Regions from separate parts of the Homo sapiens genome. Here region 1 is linked to region 2. Evidence: promoter capture Hi-C in 16 types of primary human blood cells and fetal thymus (Javierre and others, 2016). All regions are on one chromosome and are shown on one strand. Each heading gives the region's core, a stretch centred on a gene start or on the middle of the fragment in contact. The rest is flanking DNA. Distances are from core to core; before and after follow the strand shown.

Region 1 (3,581 bases), core at 1,075-3,574, 850 kb after region 2:
GGCTATGACCATGCCACTGCACTACAGCCTGGGCGACAGAGCAAGCCCCTCTCTCAAAAAAATTAATTAATTGATTTTTTTTAATGAAAAATGTTAAGGAGTTGAACATGCTTTTGTTTTAATGTGATAATAACCCTAAATCCTGTGGACTGCTCGGACTGCCTGCTATTTAATTTAATAGACATTCCCAGATCAATGTAACAGATATTCATAGATTCTTAGCTCATGTCAGAAACATATGTTTCCCAGGCGCTGCAGGAGGTGCTGGAGTAACAAGGGCAGACGTGATGCCTGCCCTGCAAGAACTTGAGTCAGACATATTTGAGGTTTGGAGTGGAACCAACCATGCAGTAAACACTGACTACAAATGAATCTTGGCTGGTAGCAAATACCCCATATTTGCAAGGCAGGAATTTTATTGGCATCTCAGTTTTATGGGTTTGAGTTGAATCATCTCAGCCATGTGGTTAATAAATGGGAGATTTATTATTATTACTGCTACTCCTCCTAATAATAATAATAATTTCTACTAATAGTAATTTTTAAATCTTGATAGATTGTAATTTTTCCCAGGACGTGCAGCCCTTCATAATTATCATAACTATCTCATTGATCATTTAACTAAATTGTAACTGCTAGTAGCTGCTGCCTTCCTGCTTGCTGAAGTCACCTGTTCCTTTGCCCCCAACCATCTAAGGGCCTGTCTCCTGGCTCACTGAGCAGACAGGAGCTGGTCCTGAGCTCTGCTCTGCTGTGGGATGGTGGCAAAATCTGTCCAACACTTTTTCTGTCTCTCTTTTTATTCTGCAGCAGAAGTATTGGGAGGCCCTAAACTCGGAGCAGGTATGGACGATCATGCTCTTTCTCTTCCAGGAGGGACTTCCTATGGCTTGATTTCAGTTCCTGTTTTTGTTAGACCTTGTTAGATGGCTAGACCCATGACAAATTCCTTCAGTAAAAAAAGAATGTCAGGCCAGGCGCGGTGGCTCACACCTGTAATCCTAGCACTTTGGGAGGCCGAGGTGGGCGATCACCTGAGGTCAGGAGTTCAAGACCAGCCTGGCCAACATGGTGAAACCCTGTCTCTACTAAAGATACAAAATTAGCCGGGCATGGTGTCACATGCCTGTAATCCCAGCTACTCAGGGGCTGAGGCAAGTGAATCGCTTGAACCTGGGAGATGAAGGTTGCAGTGAGCCGAGATTGCACCATTGCACTCCAGCCTGGGCAACAAGAGTGAAACTCCATCTCAAAAAAAAAAAAGTCAAAATGAGAGGCAAGACTGAGGATGAATGGGATTTTCAGGGCTCTCTCAGGTCAGAGTTCTTTCTGCTTTGGGGGTATTCAGGTAAGCCCAAGTAATAGGGACTCCAAGAAGACGTGTAACCCAGTGAAGAAACATGGTTTGGAACAACAGTAGTAGTGGCCGGCATGGCTGCAGTAGCTGTTGCAATAAACAGTTCCAGACATTGTCATTCTGGGACCCTGGGCAGCTGGCTGCTGTCTCCATGCCACCCTTGCCTCCAAGTGACAGGCATGTTTTGTGACAACTACCTGTGCCTGTCATCTCCCAGGATTGTTTCTGATATGAAAATGGATCTTTTGCTCAGATTCTCTTCATGCCTGGTTTCCAGCAATGATTTTTTTTTTTTTTTTTTTGAGACGGAGTCTCGCTCTGTCGCCCAGGCCGGACTGCGGACTGCAGTGGTGCGATCTCGGCTCACTGCAAGCTCCGCCTCCTGGGTTCATGCCATTCTCCTGCCTCAGCCTCCCGAGTAGCTGGGACTACAGGCGCCCGCCACCGCGCCCGGCTAATTTTTTGTATTTTTAGTAGAGACGGGGTTTCACCTTGTTAGCCAGGATGGTCTCGATCTCCTGACCTCATGATCCACCCGCCTCGGCCTCCCAAAGTGCTGGGATTACAGGCGTGAGCCACCACGCCTGGCCCAATGATTTTATTATAAAATGAAGTTTTTAGGCCGGGCACGTTGGCTCACACCTGTAATCCCAACACTTTGGAAGGCTGAGGGGGGCGGATCACCTGAGGTCAGGAGTTGGAGACCAGTCTGGCCAACGTGGCGAGATCCCCATCTCTACTAAAAATACAAAAATTAGCCAGGTGTGGTGGTGTGTACCTGTGGTCCCAGCTACTCAGGATACTAAGGCAGGAGAATCACTTGAACCCAGGAGGCAGAGGTTGCAGTGAGCCCAGATCATGCCTCCAGCCTGGGTGATGGAGTGAGACTCTGTCTCAAAATAAATAAATAAATAAATAATGAAGTTTTAAAACACATTATTCTGGAGAGTCAGAAAAAATAGATTCTAAATGTTTTCTAAGATTTGTACCACTTTATTTTTACTTACTTATTTATGTATTTATTTATTTTTTGAGACAGAATTTCACTCTTGTCGCCCACGCTGGAGTACAGTGGCGTGATCTCGGCTCACTGCAACCTCCGCCTCCGGGGTTCAAACGATTCTCCTGCTTCAGCCTCCCAAGTGGCTGGGATTATAGGCGCCTGTCACCATGCCTGGCTAATTTTTTGTATTTTTAATAGAGATGGGGTTTCACCATGTTGGCCAGGCTGGTCTCGAACTCCTGACCTCAGGTGATCCACCCGCCTCAGCCTCCCAGAGTGTTGGGATTACAGGCGTGAGCCACCACACCCAGCCTATTTATTTATTTCTTGAGATGGAGTTTCGCTCTTGTTGCCTAGGCTGGAGTACAATCACACAGTCTCAGCTCACTGCAACCTCTGCCTCCCAGGTTCAAGCGATTCTCTTGTGTCAGCCTCCCAAGTAGCTGGGATTACGGGCGCCCACCACTATACTTGGCTAATTTTTGTATTTTTGGTAGAGACGGGGTTTCACCATGTTGGCCAGGCTGGTCTTGAACTCCTGACCTTAGGTGATCTGCCCGCCTCAGTCTCCCAAAGTGCTGAGATTACAGGCGTGAGTCCCCGTGCCCGGCCTGTACTAGTTTAAAGAGCTCACCTGATCAAAGTGACAGGTTTCTGTCTGCAGGCTGCTGAACTGGTCACGGTTGGCAAGAATCATTCTTCAGCAGCCATTTAAGAAGCTCGAGCAGTGGTTCTCAATCATCAGGGCATCTAAGAATCACCCTAGGAGCTTGTAAAAATGCCAAACCTTAGGTCTCTACCCCCTACCCAGGGGCTAGGGTGGGCCCCAGCATCAGTGTTTTTAGCCAGCAGCCTGGGTGCTTCTGGTGTGGCTGGTCAAGCACACGCTGTGAGAACAATGATCTAGGTCTCAGGCCTCAGCTTAGAAACCGTTTTCATCAAAGAGCACACTGACCATCCTCAGAGAACAGAACAGGGCCCTACTTTTTTCACTGGGCAGGTGGGTCACGTAGGCTGAGGGGCCTGGTGAGCTCTTTTATTTGGGGTCTGATAAGGTCAGAAAGGAATTTGGTTCAAGGGGTCCAGCCAGGTCTGCGACCGCAAGTTAATGCGATGTTCTCACTGGAAGTGGCTGGCACAGCCCCAAACAGGTGCAGGGGACGAGCTGCCCAAACCCAGTCACTGCAGGGTCACTGGGAATCAGGTGGTCTTTTTAACATG
Region 2 (6,230 bases), core at 1,627-4,126:
GAAAGCTTCCTGAGGGGGTGGCATAAGAGTGGTGTTTTAAAGAGAAGATGAAAGGGAGATTGCTACACGGGCAGACAGAGTTACAACTGCAAAGGCAGAATTCTTAAGGGGAGGGAGGACAGTTAGTAGTTCGGATCTGGCATCAGGCAGCCTGTGTTTGGCCTGAGTCACCTGGTAATTTATTTTCATATGTTGGGACCTTGGTTTCCATTATTATATAAAAATACAAAAATTAGCCAGGTGTGGTGGTGCATGCTTGTAATCCCAACTACTCGGGAGGCTGAGACAGGAGAATCACTTGAACCTGGGAGGCAGAGGTTGCAGTGAGCCAAGATTGTGCCACTGCACTCCAGCCTGGGTGGTAGAGCAAAACTTCTTCTCAAAAAAAAAAAAAAAGATGAGGATAATAATATTGTATTTCTTTTATTCTAAGACCCACTGCTCCCACCCCATCCCACTTTAATGTTTCTTTATTTAGGACCTATCTTAGAATTGACACCCCCAAATGCTTGCTTTATCACAGGGCAAGGAAGAAAAATTGTGACAGTGTTATCACTAACTGGGTATATGCAAATTTAGCCATCCACAGAAAGATGTTCACTTGGTAATTAGCTTAGTTATTTGCCTTTGTGGTGCCATGCAGTTGAATATTAATTTGAACCCCAAAGTGTCACTTTAGGTATCTTCTAAAAGGCTACACTGTGATTAAGTATTAAAATAATAAGTTATTGTATATGCAGATTAGCTGTCACACATCAGGAACGCAACCAAATATAGTAGAGATTGCCAACTGTCTTGGTAAATTTGACATTGAAGTTACAATGTTAGGGAAGGTTGGCCTGACCACTAATGTGCTTGAGGACCCTGAACATTTAACAGTCAATAGTCTGTTTTTAGCTATCAAGAAAAGCTGTGTGGTTTCCAGGAATACACAATTAAAAAAGAAATCAAGTTTATAAGCAAAGAATAAATGAATATAATGCTTCTATATTCTCTGAAATGCCTCAGAATTATACTGTTAATTTTCCTTTTTCCTTTTTTTTTCTTTTGATACAGTGTTTTGCTCTGTCTACCCAGGCTGGAGTGCAGTGGCACAATCATGGCTCACTGCAGTCTTGACTTCCTAGGCTTAAGTGACCCTTCCACCTCAGCCTCATGAGTAACTGGGACTATAGGCATGTGCCTGGCTAATTTTTTGTATATTTTTGTAGAGTTGTAGAGACAGGATTTCACCATGTTGCCCAGGCTGGTCTGGAACTCCTGGAGCAAGGAATCTGCTCACCTCGGCCTCCCAAAGTGCTGGGATTACAGGTGTGAGCCACCATGCCCTGTCTATACTGTTAATTTCTAAAGATGCTAAAGAGATCAAGATATCTCTTGATGGGTTACGAAAAACAGTATGTCATCACGCTATACTTAGCCAGACGGTCAGAAAGTTATATTAAGACTTTAGAAGGCTGGGTGTGTGGCTCACACCTGTAATCTCAGCATTTTGGGAGGCTGAGACAGAAGGATCACTTGAGGCCATGAGTTTGAGACCAGCCTGGGGAACGGAACGAAATTGTTTGATTGTTTTTGAGACAAACAAAAACTTCAGACAGTGAAAGTGAGAGAACTTAGACTTAAGCCCTTTGATTATAGTACTGAAGAGGCAAATGGTACAATTAAAATAGCCAACATTTACTGAATGATCGATATGTGGCACTGTGTTAACCGGACAACTTCATCAGATCTGTGTGTTATGTTCATTTTAAAGTGAGAAAGCTGGGACCTAAATCCAGGAAGTTTGCCTCCAGATTCTCACTCAGAGCCACTATGCTGTTAGAACACCCTGTATATTCATTTTTATAGATACGCCCGTGTTTTTTAGGTTGGCTTAAAAATTACTCATTACATATAAGACATCTTTGTACTTTTTACAATCAATGGCATCTTAAAATGAAGGAGTATGGTAAATACCTGCCGTGAGGATCAGATGATAAGTATCTTAAAGTGCTTCTAGAAAAAGTGTGGATTAGAGGGGCAGGTGTTGCAAGGTGAGTACGATGAGCCTGGTCTTCAGAACCCCACCATGGCAGAACAGTGAAAACCACCAGGAGCAAAGTGTCAGTGAGGGGGAATGCTTTCGGCAGTTTTGAGAGGAGTTCCTCCACACGAAGCACCCTACCTCCCATACCTGCCTAAATCTTTCTATGTCCAACCCAAACGGCAGCTCCTTCAGGAAGTGGTCTCTGGCTATATGAGAAGATGTACATGGGAGCAATTTCCAGATTATGAAGCTATGGAACAAATACATGAAAGATGGATTTTATCACTAAAGTTATCCTCGCTCCTCTTCTGGCCTCAGTTTCTCTAAACTGAAAGGAATAGGTGGCTTAGCCTATCTCTTCCTTTTATAATTTCTGCCTCTAACCTCTTCAGATTTCTGCCAATCTGCTTTGAAAAGCAAATTTCCTTCCTCAGACCTGCAGGAGACTGCTCCTCTGGGCTGGCAGCTCAGCAGGGCGGGGCTCGGGGAGCAGGAGAAGAGGCGGGGGCTCGGAGGGAAGCGCGGCCGCAGCCACGTGACTTCCTTCCCAAGGAACCTCAGCTGCCGGCCTCCCAGCAACCGGTGCGTCCCGCCTAGCGACGCCCGCGCATCCCGGTTGGCCCTCGGGGGCGGTTGTGGCAAGGAGGTGCCCACGGTCGCGCTGCTCATTGGCTCGGGTTGCCGTCGCTCAGACCCGTTGCCCGGGCGCCCGCAGGCGGTGCTGCCGGATGCCCCGCCCCTTGGCCGCCAGGTTCGTGGCTGGCTGGCCGCTGCTGTCACTCCCCGGCCGTTTCCCTGCGGCCAGCGCTCTACTTGGGGCGGGAGGAAGAGGGGCGGGACTGGGGCCTGACTAGTCGTCGCCGTCTTCGCGGCTGCTATGACCAGCGGGCGAGGCGCCCTTCGCAGCTCCGCGCAACGCTAGTCGCGGCCGTGCGCCCGCCGTAGCCGTCTGCGTCCCAGCGCGGCCGCTCCCGCGGCCCCCTCGGCTTTGCCAGCGCCGCCTGCGAGGCGGAGGCAGGATGAAGATGACTGTGGATTTCGAGGAGTGTCTGAAGGACTCGCCCCGCTTCAGGTAACCGGCACGGCCGCCCGGCGTCACCGCGGAGCTGCCTTCCCGGCGCTGGGGGCGTGAAAGCCGGGCCCGCGCACCCGGAGGAGGCCCCGCCGTCCGCTCCTTCCGACGGGGCGAGCGGCTGTTGCCGCCGTTTCCCACCCTGCGAGGGCACTGCAGTCCCCACCGAGCCCTCCCGAGGGGCGACGAAGTGGCGGGGACGGGGACGTCGCCTCTCATTTCTTTCCTTGCCCTCTGCCGGGGCGGAGCGCCCCGAAGGCCGGCGCACCCTCTCCCGCTGGGGGAAATGGGGTGCAGCCGCGCTCCCGAAGTCCCGTCCCCTTCGCGGGCGCTCGCTCTCGCCCCCTTCCTCCTCTGGCTGCTCTTCCTTCCCCCTTCCTTCCGCCCCTTCTTGGTTTCCACCCCCTCCCCACCCCCTCTTTGAGGGAGCTTTCAGGGCATCCTCTTGCAGTTCATTTAGTTCCTCTTTGCGCTTTTCTGCCCCCCTTCCCCGGGGAGGAGAGAGTAGGGGGCGAACTGGGACGCCGACTTCTGCTTCGCGGTGCCCCCGGCCAGAGCGACTCTCCGGAGGGCGCCCGCGGTGGATGCGTGCGGGAATCGCGGGGGGAAGCGCTGTGATCAACCGCATTCCGTGGACCCTAGTTGGTGACTACCTGCTTTTCTTTCCACTTAAGCTCGTTGAAGGGGGCACAGCTGTCGAGAGGTACCGGGCTGAGGGCGGAGGACTAGCAGAAAAGTGCATTTCTGTTTTGAGAACGGAAGTAGGAGGGCCGTGAAGATTGCCTGTGTGTTCCTCTTCCAGCAGCCTCTGCCCAGGAGGGCCCGGATCACAGTCGGATGCTCCCAGTGGATCTGTCACAGAGTTGACATGGGGGCACTCCGATTCACATGGGTTGCCCTTCTTTCTATGTGAGAGGCGGTCGTCCTGAGGCCGTCCAGGACACAGGTTCTTTCTGTTTTGAGGATAGTAGGAAAGTCTTGAGTTGTTTTGGACAATGGAGTTTTTCTAGGTTGCGTTTTACAGTGTATTTATTTACAGGGCTGGTCATAGTCCTTACAAATATAAGGCCTTAACACTTCCGTTAGATAGTGACATTTCTTGAAGCTTCCTCTGAGCACTGGCGTGTGTGTGCCCGCTAATGTCTGGGCCAAGCCTGGATTGTAAATTGCATCCTCTGCCTGGGAACTAACTGTTCTCATCCTTAACACTGTTAATTGGATTTCTTATTCTCCTTTCAGCGAAAAAGAAAAGAATTGTAAAACTAAGGAACTGCTACTTAGAGAAAATTTAAGAACGCTTTTTGCGTTTGCCCTTTGATGATTTTTGGGTATTAATTTTATTGGAGCCTAGGGCTATTATTTAAAAAAACCCACTTCCTTTGATAGCTGTTGTTGCGATTCATTTTTGAAACTTTTATGTTCTGCATTATTGAAGGACTCAAGAGACACAAATAGATTTCCTAGGACAGGCGTGCAGGTTGGTTTCCAGGACAGCATGGCAAGTGGAGTAATTTTTAAAGTGCACCTTAGAAAGTTCAGCTTTTTGTGAAATTTTGTTACTATGACTCAGCTATTTATTTTTAAGTGAAATAATCACAGCATTTTTCCCTTAGAAGATGTAGCTTTGAACTCCCTTTGTTTCACATTAATTTTTTTTTTTTTTTAAGTTGAGAGAAGTGATTTGGAAATACTTCTAGCTACTGGGGTTGGTCACAAACCATGTGATGTCTTTGTTTTTGAAATAAAGAAATCATTGAATATAAAATAAGAGGGCAACATACTGATTAAGTTGTAGGGAATATTATAGTGAACTTTTGTTAAACTTGATTGTAACATAAATTCTATGTTAATTAAAATATTACAGGTTTTCAGGAGTTGTTTCCCATATTCCAATTATTGTTAGCTGCAAATTGGGAAGAGATGCCAAAATTTCAATAACTTCAACATCTTATATACATTTTGGGGACAAATTAGATTTGCAATAGAGGGAAGACTGCCGAGAAATAGAAGTTTCATTATTCATATTCTTAATTTTTTATAGTTTTTCCATAATCCTATTACTATGAGGATCTGTATAGCATTTGAAAAGAATATTTGAGAAGTCTTCATTCACATGTTGTATGTATAAGAAGAGCTTTACTTTTGAGAGTATTGTGTATGTTGAGTGATAGTGAAACTTGTATCAAAATAAAAAGCTTGTGAGGCCTGGGCTTGTTTTTTGGTAGTAAGGCAGCTGCACTTGTGTCCTGATCTATTGGGCTGTCTTTAAATTAATACGTGTCTTTATTCATAAATGAATCTTGTGGCATTTAAGTCTAGTGTGTGCACATAACTGTCTTGGTGCTGTAGAATTAATGCAAAAGGCACATCTTGCTGATGAAAATTTCACCACTGTTCAAGCTTTAAACATCTATTTTCCTGTTAAATCAATGAGGAGAATACAAGGGGACTGGTTGAAATAGGGAGAAGGATGTTGCATTTGCAACATTGTCTTTTGTAATTTGAATAGTCAATGGTTACTTTTACATCCCAGTGAACATTTTTTTTTTGTTTTGGATTGGAGGGCACATTTCGTTGTATAATTTTGGGTTCCCTTTTTGGTTTTTTAAATACCAGTTTAAAATCAGCTTAAAGGTCAAAATCTTGTTCATCTAAAATCTAAAAACCTTGTTCATCTAAAAATCTACAGGAATGTAAAGTGCCTAAGTATACTTTTTTTTGAGTGGAAATTTTGCATTTTGGCCAAAATATGTTGAAGTTGGAATTTGTTTGGGCCCTTAATTGTATGTAGTTGCATGTAGTAGGTCTTTAAAATTTTACAAAACCTCCGTAAAAGTACTGCTTTTCTTTTACTTAAACATACTCTTGGGCTGAACACTGTGGCTCACATCTGTAATCCCAGCACTTTGGGAGGTGGAGGACGGCGGATCACTTAAGGTCAGGAGTTTGACACCAGCCTGGCCAACATGGTAAAACCCCATCTCTACTAAAAATACAAAAATTAGCCGGGTGTGGTAGTGTGCACCTGTAATCCCAGCTACTTGGGAGACTGAGGCATGAGAACTGCTTGAACCTGGGAGGCAGAGGCTGTAGTGAGCTGAGGTTGTGCCACTGTACTCCAGCCTGGGC

The links. The method cuts DNA at HindIII sites, captures the fragments that hold promoters and counts their contacts. A CHiCAGO score of 5 or more calls a contact.
Region 1: a contact is called between a fragment that was not itself captured here and the fragment with the promoter of ACAP2 in region 2, in 1 of 17 cell types (neutrophils). The highest score is 5.3, in neutrophils.

The regions. Positions count from the first base shown.
Region 1 is chr3:194,590,303-194,593,883 of GRCh38, reverse strand. The region is part of intron 9 of TMEM44 (transmembrane protein 44); the gene reads left to right. It overlaps TMEM44-AS1 (TMEM44 antisense RNA 1), which reads right to left. Exons shown (of 3, transcript NR_047575.1): 3 at 3,052-3,581. Among named protein-coding and RNA genes, the nearest start is that of TMEM44-AS1, 7.8 kb to the right of the region's middle. The HindIII fragment of the contact is 6,556 bases long and covers 1-3,581 here.
Region 2 is chr3:195,439,666-195,445,895 of GRCh38, reverse strand. ACAP2 (ArfGAP with coiled-coil, ankyrin repeat and PH domains 2) reads left to right here and starts at 2,876. Exons shown (of 23, transcript NM_012287.6): 1 at 2,876-3,101. The coding sequence starts at 3,049. RefSeq lists silencers at 2,512-3,011, 3,132-3,351, 3,372-3,421 and enhancers at 2,833-3,332, 3,872-3,961. The HindIII fragment of the contact is 4,201 bases long and covers 8-4,208 here.